Linked DNA regions of Homo sapiens: all the other regions are linked to region 1. The links are contacts of gene promoters, found by promoter capture Hi-C in blood cells and fetal thymus (Javierre and others, 2016). All regions are on one chromosome and are shown on one strand. Each heading gives the region's core, a stretch centred on a gene start or on the middle of the fragment in contact. The rest is flanking DNA. Distances are from core to core; before and after follow the strand shown. Region 1 holds the start of WLS (Wnt ligand secretion mediator). Region 2 has its middle 100 kb from the start of WLS. Region 3 overlaps WLS (Wnt ligand secretion mediator). Region 4 overlaps WLS (Wnt ligand secretion mediator).

Region 1 (3,122 bases), core at 333-2,832:
CGGTCTGTTGTTGACTGAAACATCCTTATGTGACACATAATGATGTGTATATCCTCAGAACTGTTAAGAACTATTAGATGTTGAAGAGATGGAGTTTTGTATGCATAAAGTTTGGTGCTTGTCCTTGACAAGTCTCTGTTCTATTTGGAGATTAGAAATGAATGCTTCTATTAAGTGTAACCTGCATGACATCTTTTATAAGGGCAATGAAAATTCAGGAACAGAGTAGAGGAGGAGAGAGGACTGGGAAAAATAGTCTCTTGGCATGAAGAGGGTGTGTAAGGATGGGAGGGACAAGAAACAAGATGTGTGGGTGGTGGTGGTAGAAACTGCACGTTTGGGGAGCAGGGTGGGGTATTTACCAAACCAAGGGTCTATTGAGTAAGGTGAGTTGTACTGGCCAAGCGGCCAGTTTATGAAACATGGAAAAACCAGGCCCAGAAATTTAGGCTTGATAGAGCAGGAAATCTCTATCGGGAGCCCCGCCCCTCTTTTTATGGAAGTTAAGTATAAATATAAATATATGATTTCTCACAAAGAGACAACAAACATTGTAACTTAATATAGGTACCCTCTAAACCAACTAAGATCTCTTTAGACCTTTGAAATACAAACTGTGGGCTTGCTTTCACATTCACTTATTCATTCCACAAAAGATTATGGGGCACCTACTAGAGCTAGCATTTTGTTAGGCACCATGGGGGGTACAAAGAACAAAAAAAACTTGGTCCCTATTCCCCAGGAGTTTACAGCTCAGTGGTGGAGACAAACGTGTACACAAATCCTTACAATAGGAGGTAAAAATGTAAATACAGGATTGTAGGGGCTCAGTTCCCAGAGATACTGCATGGAGGTGGTGTGGAAAATTAGAAAGATTTTTTAACACTAGTTGGTTTTGGATCAGGTTTAACATTGATGGAGTAGAACATGTTCTCTTTAAGGCAATAACCAGGGTTAAGGCTGTGGAAGCACATGTGCTGGAGTAACGAACAGTGGTCTGATTTGGCTGGAGAGCAAGTTTCCTCAAGGGGCGCCGTGGGGAATTTAGCTGGGTATGTGCCCAATAACCGAGGCTGGGAATCTGGTAGAAAGAAGTCGAGCTGAGACTTTATTCCGCATCTCTGTGTTTTGACTTAGGCATCTATTGGGTCCTTTTAAAAAAAATTCTCCTCCTCTTTCCTAAAGAGAGTTCTAGCAGTTGGGGGTGGGGTGGGGACCATTTCCTAAAGTCAACGCGTAAGTTAAAGGTCTGCAAGGCGGTCCACCGGTGATTTAAATCTCGCACTTCGGAAACCAGAAAAGGAAACCTGTGAGAAGCTGGGCAGGGGGAACCCGCTTAACATCAACAGCAACCCCTAAATGGCATCAGACCTTGGAGAGACAGGTTGCAGGCCAGACTCGGGAGCCAGGCGCCAGCACCCGCCAGAGCTCTGAGCCCCGAACTGGTGGGCAAGGGGTAGAGGAAGAGAGGGAGGGAGGGAGGGAGGAAGCGCGAGAGGGAGGGAGGAAGAAAGGGAGGGAGGCGGCGTCATGTGATCCGCTTCCCTGCTCCTTTAAGCGTCCACAGGCGGCGGAGCGGCCACAATCACAGCTCCGGGCATTGGGGGAACCCGAGCCGGCTGCGCCGGGGGAATCCGTGCGGGCGCCTTCCGTCCCGGTCCCATCCTCGCCGCGCTCCAGCACCTCTGAAGTTTTGCAGCGCCCAGAAAGGAGGCGAGGAAGGAGGGAGTGTGTGAGAGGAGGGAGCAAAAAGCTCACCCTAAAACATTTATTTCAAGGAGAAAAGAAAAAGGGGGGGCGCAAAAATGGCTGGGGCAATTATAGAAAACATGAGCACCAAGAAGCTGTGCATTGTTGGTGGGATTCTGCTCGTGTTCCAAATCATCGCCTTTCTGGTGGGAGGCTTGATTGGTAAGTGCGGAGAGCTGCAAACTTTTCCCCCTTTCTGTCTTTTCGGGCCCCTTCCCTCTTTGCCTCTTGGGCTACTTGTTACAGTATCACTGCCTTGCTTCTATGATCTAATTAGTCCGGCTATTGTGCTTAAGAAAGCAGAGCTCCATGGGGCTCCGTGGGGCACAATCCAGTCTAGTGGCTAAGAGAAAAGGAGGGGAAAAAGTTTTGGCCTAGTTTCAGTATCCACTTGAAAGGCAAGAGGGGGGCGGCGGGGGTGGGAATCTTAAGCATGGCGACGGATCGCGCGAGGAAGCGCTGGGTTACAAAGTTGATTGCTCGCCCCCCCCCCCCCCCGCTTTTTCCCGCGTTCCCCCCCTTTTCCTCTCGGTTCCCTTCCAATCAGCTCCGGGAGGGCAACGTAATCGACTTTATTAGGAACAACAGAAGAGTCGGGGAACTGTGCCCGGCGCAAACCCGGAGCTCTGTTACAAGGCTGAGATACTTGCACGGTTGTAAATGCATTTGGTCGTCTTTGCTAGGGGCTGAGGGTTTGCAATTTGGGGTCCCGACCTTCGCGCCCTCTGCTTTCCCGCCGCACTCCACCCCACGCTCTGCCGTGGACAGGTCCGAATTGTCGGCCGGGAGGTTGGGTGGGATGGGGTGGGGTGGGAGGGAGTCCTTGACCAGCGCCGCGGGAAGTTGGAGAGGTCGGAGGGGAAAAGCGTATCCGAAAGGTGTTGCTTTTGGCCTCCTGCCCACTCGTGAATATCCCTTCCCCCACTACTTAGAGCCCCGAGAGCCGGTGACTGTGAATGTCCCCGTCCTCTTTTGGCGCTTAGGAGAGCGCCCTCAGCTCCCACCACAGCCCCCCGCAGGTGACAGCTCGCCGGCCTCCTCGGCGACAGCGCCCGCCCCGGGAGACCTCCCCTGGCGTGCACCTCCCGGACCTCTCTGAGTCAAACAGGCTTCCGGGTGAAGAAAACCGCCTCACGGACCGTCCACTCGGAAAAACTCCCTTCCCCTCACTGTCTCCCCATCTGCATCCATCCTCCCGCCTCTCTGCACACTCGCGCCCCCCGCCCCCTCAAGATTTGGGACATCCCGGCACAAACTTCAATGCCAACTTTGCAGCGGGCGCGGACGGGAGGTTCGGTTTCCTTACTTCACGGCTTTGTTAAACTTTGCGGAGTGGGGAGTCCACGGAGGGGCTTTCTCCGCGCGTGCCTTTA
Region 2 (3,122 bases), core at 286-2,785, 100 kb before region 1:
GAAACCCCGTCTCTACTAAAAATACAAAAATTAGCTGGGCATGGTGGCGGGCTTCTGTAATCCCAGCTACTCAGGAGGTTGAGGCAGGAGAATCGCTGGAACCCGAGAGGCGGAGATTGCAGTGAGGAGAGATTGCACCACTGCACTCCAGCCTGGCGACAGAGGAAGACTCCGTCTCAAAAAAAAAAAAAAAAAAAAAAGAAAGAAAGAAAGAAAGAAAAGAAGCAGGAAAAAGACCGATATCAAACTTATGGTGATGGAAAACAAGCAACAACAGTATAATGTCTGAGCTGAAAGGTCACATGACTAGGAAGTGGCAGAACTTGAGGTTTTAACTCTGGACTAACTCCAGGTTTGGTGCTCATTGCACTACTAAACTAGTTTTGTGGCAGGCAGAAAAGCCTGAGAGAGTGAGAGAGAAGGCAAATTAAGCACTATTTTCTTTTTCTTTCTTTTTTTTTTTTTCACTTAGCCTTGACTTGAAACTCACATTTTCTTAATTAAGCCAATTGGCCCACAAATGTAAGTAGCATTTTAAAAATTTCCCTGATAAGCAAAAGCTGGAAGCATTTCCCATAAGAACAGGAAAAAGTCAAGGATGCCCACTTTCACCACTCCTATTCAACATAGTACTGGAAGTCTGAACGAGAGCAATCAGGCAAGAGAAAAAAAGTAAAAGGCATTCAAATAAAAAATGAAGACGTCAAATTATCTCTGTTTTCTGTTGATATGATTCTATACCTACAATACCCAAGAAACTCTGTCAAAAGGCTCCTAGAACTGATAAATAACTTCAGTAAAGTTTCAGGATACAAAATCAATGAATACAAATCAGCAACATTTCTATACACCAGTAGTATTCAAGCTGAGAGCCAAATCAAGAACACAATTCCATTTACAATAGCCACACACAAAAATAAAATATTTAGGAATACATCTAACCAAGGAGGTAAAAGATCTCTATAAGGAGAGCTACAAAACATTGCTGAAAGAAATTACAGATGACAAATAAATGGAAAAACAGTCCATGCCCATGGATTGAAAGAATCAATATTGTTAAAATAGCTATACTGCTTAAAGCAATCTACAGATTCAATGCTATCCTTACGAAACTACCAACATCTTTTTTTTCAGATTTAGAAAAAAAATTTAAATTGATATGGAATCAAAAAAGAGCACAAATAACCAAATAACTTTGAAGCAAAAAGAACAAAGCCAGAGGTATCACATTACCTGACTTCAAACTACTATAAGGTTACAGTAACCAAAATAGCATGGTACTGGTACAAGAGCAGATATATAGACCAATGGAACAGAATAGAGAGCCCAAAATTAAGCCTCACATCTACAGCCATCTGACCATCAACAAAGCTGACAAAAACCAACAATGAGAAAAGGACTCCCGGCCGGGTACAGTGGCTCACTCCTGTAATCCCAGCACTTTGGGAGTCTGAAGTGGGTGGATCACAAGGTCAGGAGTTCAAGACCAGCCTGGCCAACATGGTGAAACCCCATCTCTACTAAAAACAAAATACAAAATTTTGCCAGGCATGGTGGCGTATGCTTTTAATCCCAGCTACTCAGGAGGCTGAGGCAGGAGAATTGCTTGAATCCAGGAGGTGCAGGTTGCAGTGAGCTGAGATCGTGCCACTGCACTCCAGCCTGGGCAAAAGAGCGAGACTCCATCTCAAAAAAAAAAAAAAAAAAAAAAGACAAAAGGATTCCCTATTCAATAAATGGTGCTGGGTTAGCTGGCTAGCCATATGCAGAAGGAGGAAACTGGACCCCTATCTTTTACCATATGCAAAAATTAACTCAAGATGGATTAAAGATTTAAATGCAAGACCTCAAACTATAATAACCCTGGAAGAAAGAATACGAGTTGCCCTTCTCGACATCGGCTTTGGCAAAAAATCTATGGCTAAGTCCTTAAAAGCAATTACAACAAAAACAAAAATTGACAAGTAGGACCTAATTAAACTAAAGAGTTTCTGCATATCAAGAAAAACTATCAACAGGGTAATTAGACAATATATAGAATGGGAGAAAATATTCATAACCCATGCATCTGACACAGTTTTAATATCCGGAATCTATAAGGAACATAAACAACTCAATAAGCAAAAAACGAATAAGCACATTGAAGAGTGGGCAAAGGACATGAAGAGACACTTCTCAAAAGAAGACATAAAAGCAGCCAACAAACATATGAAAAAATGCTCAACATCACTAATCATCAGAGACATGCAAATCAAAACTGCTATGAGATATCAACTTACACCAGTCAGAATGGCTATTAAAAAGACCAAAAATAACAGATGCTGGTAAGGCTGTGAAGAAAAGAGAACACTTACACGTTGTTAGTGGGAATGTAAATTAGTTCAGCCACTGTAGATAGCAGTCTAGAGATTTCTCAAAGAACTTAAAACAGAATTACCATTTGACCCAGCAATCCCATTACTGGGTATATACCCAAAGGAAGATAAATTATTCTAGAAAAAAAGACACATGCATTTGTACGTTCATTGCAGCACTATCCACAATAGCAAAGACATGGAATCAACCTAGATGCCCATCAACAGTGGACTGGATAAAGAAAATGTGGTCAGCCTGACATGGTGGCTCACACCTGTAATCCCAGCACTTTGGGAAGCTGAGGTGAGAGGATTGCTTGAGCCCAGAATCCAAGACCTGGGCTCAAACTGGGCAACATAGTGAGAACCCCATCCTCACAAAAAATTTAAAAATTAGCTAGGTGTGGTGGTGCATGCCTGTAGCTATTTGGGAGGTTCAGGCAGGAGGATTGCTTGAGCCCAGGAGTTTGAGGTTAAAGTGATCTCTGATCATGCCACTGAACTCCAACCTGAGTGACAGAGTGAGAACCTGTCAAAAAAAAAACGAAAAGAAAGAAAATGTTATACATATGCACCATGGAATACTACACAGCCATTAAAAAAAATCATGTCCTTTGCAGCAATATAGATGCAGCTGGAAGGCATTATCCTAAGTAAATTAACACAGGAACAGAAAACCAAATACCACATGTTCTCACTTGTAAGTGGGGGCCGAACATTGGGTACACATGGACATAAAGATGGGAACAAGAGACATTGGGGACTACT
Region 3 (3,122 bases), core at 230-2,729, 100 kb after region 1:
CAGAGGGAACACAAGATGCCCTCACTGCCACCATTCCCTCCTATTTCTGTTCACGCTAAGCATTTTCTGTCTAATGCACCCACTCTGCGGGGAGCAAAAGCGGCAACACTGGTTCCGCGTCTTGGCAGCTAGCTACAGTGTGATGTCAGTTTTACTCCTGGAGGTTTCTGAGGTCTCCTGCCCCTTGTTTCATAGGAAAGATGGCTTTGGCTTTGTTGCCTCGGTAAAGCGTTGGATTAAGTCCTGAGGCCCTGACATTGGTTGCCCCCTTTTATTGACGCCATCTCCCTGATTGTACATTAGATGATCTGCCCATGGCCAGCTGAGCTTCTTGATGTCTGTGAGCACTGATGGGATTGGTCTTGTCACACGGGCTGGACCCAGACCCTAAAGCAGGTCTTAAAAGCGTTTTCCCATTCCCCAGTGAAGGTGGGAACCAACTGATGGACCGTCACCAGCCTGGCACCCCTTGCTCAGCTGTTTGTAATCAGGTGTCTTCTGCCCCCTGCCTCTCCCAGGGCTATTGCTGTGCCAGTGACCTGACCTTTCCTGGCCCAGTCAATTAAAATCATTTTTTCTGAGTCTTAGAATTCTTGTCACCCCACCATGATAGGGACATCTCAGTTACCTTCTTGGGAAGAACCTTCGGCTTCCTAAATGTTTGCTAGAGTTGCTATACGAATACTACAGACAGGGTGTCCTAAACAACAGAAGCTTGTTTTCTCACAGTCTGATATTAAGGTATCACCAACGTGGGTTTCTTCCGAGACCTCTCTGTCTGGCTTGTAGATGGATACTTTCTCCCTGTGTCTTCACGTGGTCTTCCCTTTGTGTATATCTATATTCTAATCTCCTTTTCTTTCAAAGGACACCAGTCTGTTGGAGTAGGGCCCATCCCCAATTGACCTCATTGTTAACTTAATTACTTCTTTAAGAAGGCCCTATCTCTAAACACAGTCACATTCTGAGGTTCTAGGGGTTAGAACTTCAATATATGAATTTGAGAGTTTGGGGGAGATACAATTCAGCCTGTAACACCAAGATTTTACCCCCAAACTAATAAGTTCTATTGTGTTCTTCTCCCACTTGCAGTTACTGCCTGGCAGTAAGTGTCAGGAGGTGCTTTGGAGGTCCATGGGCAATGGCTCGCTCCAAGCCTGGAATAAATGACCTCTGGGGTTGACAGGCACCGAGAGACAACTGGACCCAGGGCTCTTAACCCTGTCCACCAAAGCCACTCTGCCCCATCTCCCAGAAGGGATCCTCAAAGCTGAGCTATCCCAAGGCACACTTGTTTTCTAACTGAGGGTGTTTTCCTAAATGCCAGTGGGGAAGAACACCAGTGCCGATATGCTAGGCTAGACCCAGCCATGCAGAGTACAGAGGAACTGCCCTTGCCTGCACCAGGCAAATCTTTCATGGGTGTTTTGAGCACTTACTATATACCACATACTGTCCTGGGTATTTACTTTCTTTGGAAAAAAAAAAAAGGCCAGGTGCGGTGGCTCACGCCTGTAATCCCAGCACTTTGGGAGTCCAAGGCAGGTGGATCACAAGGTCAGGAGATCGAGACCATCCTGGCTAATGCGGTGAAACCCTGTCTCTACTTAAAAACACACACACACACACACACACACAAAATTAGCTGGGCATGGTGGCATGCGCCTGTAGTCCCAGCTGCTCAGGAAACTGAGGCAGGAGAATCTCTTTGAACCCTGGAGGCGGAGGTTGCAGTGCTGAGATCGCTCCACTCCACTCCAGCCTGGGTGACAGAGCAAGACTCCATCTAAAAAAAAAAAAAAAAAAAAAAAGAAGAAGAAACCTACCATTCACCATTTTATTATTATTTTTTCTTTTGGTTAAGATCTTTCTATGTTGCCCAGGCTGGTCTCCAGCTCCTGGGCTCAAGTGGTCCTCCTGCCTCTGTCTCCCAAAGTGCTGGGATTACAGATGTAAGCCACTGCACCAGCGACACTATTTTGTTCTTTAACATAACAATCATATTAACACCAAAAATGTAAGGCAGACATATTCTTAAGCAGTTCTTTGCATGAAAATAATTTGGCTTTAAAATACTACACTTTTCTGTTTTTCTCATTCTGCTGTGAACCAGAGACTTCGTTACAAAAAGTTATCATTTGAACTTAGCTTTGAAGGTGAATAGGAGAGAGGTTGGTGTGGGCCTAGGGAAAATTCTACAAAAAAGGATAGGTCATGAATGTTCTGGAAAGAACATAAGCTTTGGAGGTAGACACAGATGGTTTGGAATCTTGGCTCCGGCACACATTGTGTATGACCTTGAGAACAAATATGAACTCATGGTATGGGAGCTCCCTGGCTTTCACACTTGGGCAGTGGGGTGTTAATTTGCATTGGTAGTGGTGAGGATGGAAGTACGTAGGCCTTATTAATATTAGAAGACCTCTAGTGGTACCTCCGATCTCTCCCGGAATCTGTAATACATCCTCAGAATGAGAGTAGCTGTTGTCATTTTTATTGAAGTGGGCACAGATACACAAACAATTGTCATTAAAATGCTGCCGGTCCTAAGAAGCTGTCTCCAGTGCATATGGCTTTCTTCATCCTCATTAGGCATTCCAGGCAGTTACAACCAAGCAGCCGCTTACACACCTGTGGATGTGACTCCACACATATGGATGCATTGCCGTAGTCCTTTGGGATGAAATCTGTGCCAGAGATTGGTCTCATTTCACAAGGTTAGGAAGAAATAGACCGTCATCTAATTGTTAATGAGCTGTGATGAATTTGACATCATAACCAGGGAGAGAAATTTACTGCAAACTAAAGCATTCTTTTCTTTTTTCTTTCTCACTCTTTTTCACCCCAAGACACATATCACATTTTCAGAAGGGTTTTTTCTTGTCTGAGATGGGAAGAGACTTTTGAGCATGTTTGTGCACTGAACAGCAGGAGCCAAGAGAGGGGGAAACTAACAGATGGAGCAAGACCTTGGCAGAAGTAGGAGGTGATGGAATTAGGAGGCAAGTGGAGGGATCTCCACTCGTGCTATGTTACTGCCACGTTCACACACCCATTCCCCAAGGGGGAACAGTTGGCCTTCAAGGTACAATAAAATCACATGTGAAACATAGATTTTGGTG
Region 4 (3,122 bases), core at 446-2,945, 64 kb after region 1:
TGAACGTTCATAGAACTAGAACCTAGGCTGCTACATAACACCTTAGCCAATTATGCCATTTAAGGAGTCTTAATATCACACTGAAGACAATATAAAGGCATTGAAAGTGTTTTAGAAATCATTTCTGTAGCAGGAAGTGTGAAAATTAGACAGGAACAGGGCAGGTGTTTTAGTCATGGAGGCTGGAGATAATGGTGGCCTGAACAAGCGGCATATCAGTGAGGAGAGGAGGCTAAATCTGAAAGACACCTAGTAGAGTTGACCAAATTTGGTGGTTTGCATTTCTAAACCATGAAAGAGGAGAGACTGGTGAAAAGTGAGCATGCAAATTCAAATATCAAGAGGGAAATCTGGACTGGAGAGGGTGACTTGCATCCCAGGAGCAGATGAAATCCTTCAGGGTGAACGTGTTGAGTTAGATGAGGAAAGAGCTACTCTCCAACCTGGTGAACAATAGATATGGTTTTTTTCTATATTCGGTGGTACTTCAGATTCATTTATTTAAAAAAATTGATGTCTCCACTTACTTTTTCAGTGGTATAGCATTTAAGTACTAGTAGCCTTGGCTACAATAGGGGTAAGTGGATGTTTTCTAACTGCATGTCACTTTGAAGAGAACCTAATGTGAGCACCGTTCTCCCTTGTCCTTGTCATGTTCCATAGACAGATATGTGACTTCAACCAGATGATAATGCATCAGAATACAGCAAGGAACCAGTTTTGCAATGCTTAGAAATATGTTTTCTTACATGTGGAAGATAATTCTCTGCAATTCAAATGCTTGATTTGATGAGGAAAGACGAGAAGCAATGTGAACTAAACTGTTAGGCTGGTTTGCAAAATAATTGTACTCATTCATTTTTATAACCACTCACACCCAGGCCTGTAGGGCATCTTAAGAAAACCGCCAGGGCCAAATTTGTAATTAGCTGAGTCCATTTTTGCCAGACCTAACCATGTATAAGACAGGGTTGGTTTTGTTATTTCCTTAATTGAAAGCGTCAAGAAAAATTCAAGCCAGGTCAGAGAGTTTTTTATTGGGGAAGGAATGCTGGCATAAATAACTCCAGATTATATGTCTGCCAGAGGCTGGGAGGAGATTTGTCTCTGTGGCCTCTTTCTGAGGTTACCCAAACAAACTCTGGTGACTGGCAGCTCCCCTATGTAATGTGGGAATGCACACGAGCATTGAAACCTCTTTAATTTTTTTCCCAGGGCAAAGGCCCAGGAAAGTCAAAGTGTCTCTAGGAACCTAAAAGCTTTTGACAACCATAAAATCATTCCTGATTTCCTCTAATATATCTTGTCCTCTCCTTTTTCCCCTTTTATTCCAGTTAATAGGTCAACAATATAACCCAGCCACCCTGGGACTAGATGGAGAAGGAACTGGTATTGGTTAACAGACTTAGGGAGTAGTTCCCACTGTTTCCATACTGCAAAGGTGGAAACTGAGACTTATTCAAGGTTGTTCAGGTGGGAAGTCATAAAAGGAGAATTCAAAATCACATCCATTTGGTGCCCAATTTATACACTTTGTACTATCCTGGCTGGGAAATACCTGTTTCAAATATAGAAGGTGTAGAGCTTAGGTGACAAGCATTCTGATGTCTTCCTCAATTAAGGCTCTAGTGGCCTTTTCATTGCTTTTCCTTCTCCCCACATTCCCACCCCAGGGACCATTCTTACATTAAGCAGCTGCCCTAGATTTCTTGGGGACACTAGACCTCTTTCCTAGCGATTTCTAGCACCCCCCTCCCACCATTTCTGGCTTATAGAAGGTACTTGCCCTCCTCTCTGACTTTCCACTTGCCTGCAGAAAAACTGATTGGCTTTGCTTTTCTCAAGCAGGGCAGGGCAGTATAACTGGTATAGAGACAGACTTCCTAAGGATACAATTAGTTGATGCTTCCCAACATGGAAAGGCATGGATCTTTCTGTCTGTAACCACACTTTGCAGTCTAGGTCTGCTCCTATGGAACCCTGGAGCATAGGGGAAACTGCCCCCATAACAGGATGGAAATAGTAAGTGTAACGAACGACAGTGCCTTTCCACACTTCCCTTCCTCCTCTGAATGAATTCTCCACCCAACTAAAATATGTCTCCAAAGCTATTTGAGAAATGTGAAGCTTGGCTAGCCCATAGGACCTATGGGCTTCTATACCAAAGCTGCTGGTATAGTATAGGTATGGAAAACCATGGATTTCAAATCTATAAATGCCCTATGCTGATACCTTACAACTGTACCCCCATGAAACTGATATAACCAGTGTCCTTGTTTTATAGGGAAAGTTCTAATATAGTGCCAAATGTAGCTTAGCCTTCCTGCCATTCTCCCAGGGAGTTCAAATTGGATTCCTCGCCTTCATTATCTCTGGAGGGTGGAGGGGAAGTATTGCCCACACAGTATCCCAGGAGTCATGAAACCAGTGTTTTATTAAATGCAACATCATCATTAATGCTGAACTTTATTTCCAAGTCCACTGGAGGCAGAAGAGAAAACAATTCAGGTAACCAGCTTCGCAGTTTTACTGTATTCCTCTGTCCAGTGCTTTCCCGTTTCTGGGTTTTGTGATCTAGGTTTGGATTAGGGATTCATAGTGGGAAGCTCCATGTTCCTGAAACCTGGTAATTATTTTGAATTAAGGATAAGAGTTTCACTTCCCTAATAAAATGTCAACAACAATACCTTACCCTTCATGCTTTCTGCTCTGTCTTGAGCATTTTTCATGCAGTAACTAGTGTAATAATCATGAAATTCTAGGCGTTAAGTCTTATCCTAACAGGTAAGGAACCAGGTCTGCTAAGATTGACCTGTGCTACCTCATGTGTGCTATCTGTCTGGGGGTGAGGAGTGATATCACAGTCTAGTAAAGGTCACTTGAACAGGCCATTCTCCCTGTGATTTCTATTTTTTTATGTACATCATAAAAGATGGCAGGATGCTATGAGACTATTGGCTATGAAGCTCTAGGGTCCTGAGTCTGGTATTTCTAGGGTAGGGCTTTCTGAGTTATGGCGTCTTCACCTCATAAACAGGAATAACACCTCTGCTTCAGATTGCACGGGAAGTAAGGAGATGGTAACGTGAAGAGACGGCAGAACATGCTATAATTTTAACAGC

Evidence for each region. Contacts are between HindIII fragments. The CHiCAGO score rates a contact against its expected background, and 5 or more counts as called.
Region 2: a fragment that was not itself captured here is called in contact with the fragment with the promoter of WLS in region 1 in 1 of 17 cell types (monocytes); the score reaches 6.6 in monocytes.
Region 3: a contact is called between a fragment that was not itself captured here and the fragment with the promoter of WLS in region 1, in 1 of 17 cell types (endothelial precursors). The highest score is 5.1, in endothelial precursors.
Region 4: a fragment that was not itself captured here is called in contact with the fragment with the promoter of WLS in region 1 in 1 of 17 cell types (endothelial precursors); the score reaches 5.6 in endothelial precursors.

What each region holds. Positions count from the first base shown.
Region 1 is chr1:68,230,983-68,234,104 of GRCh38, reverse strand. WLS (Wnt ligand secretion mediator) reads left to right here and starts at 1,582. Exons shown (of 12, transcript NM_024911.7): 1 at 1,582-1,911. The coding sequence starts at 1,806. The HindIII fragment of the contact is 11,043 bases long and covers 1-3,122 here.
Region 2 is chr1:68,334,290-68,337,411 of GRCh38, reverse strand. No RefSeq gene overlaps it. Among named protein-coding and RNA genes, the nearest start is that of WLS, 100 kb to the right of the region's middle. The HindIII fragment of the contact is 9,371 bases long and covers 1-3,122 here.
Region 3 is chr1:68,129,579-68,132,700 of GRCh38, reverse strand. The region is part of intron 11 of WLS (Wnt ligand secretion mediator); the gene reads left to right. All of the region lies in intron 8 of GNG12-AS1 (GNG12, DIRAS3 and WLS antisense RNA 1), which reads right to left. Among named protein-coding and RNA genes, the nearest start is that of MIR1262, 52 kb to the left of the region's middle. The HindIII fragment of the contact is 1,525 bases long and covers 717-2,241 here.
Region 4 is chr1:68,166,743-68,169,864 of GRCh38, reverse strand. All of the region lies in intron 2 of WLS (Wnt ligand secretion mediator), which reads left to right. All of the region lies in intron 9 of GNG12-AS1 (GNG12, DIRAS3 and WLS antisense RNA 1), which reads right to left. Among named protein-coding and RNA genes, the nearest start is that of MIR1262, 15 kb to the left of the region's middle. The HindIII fragment of the contact is 868 bases long and covers 1,262-2,129 here.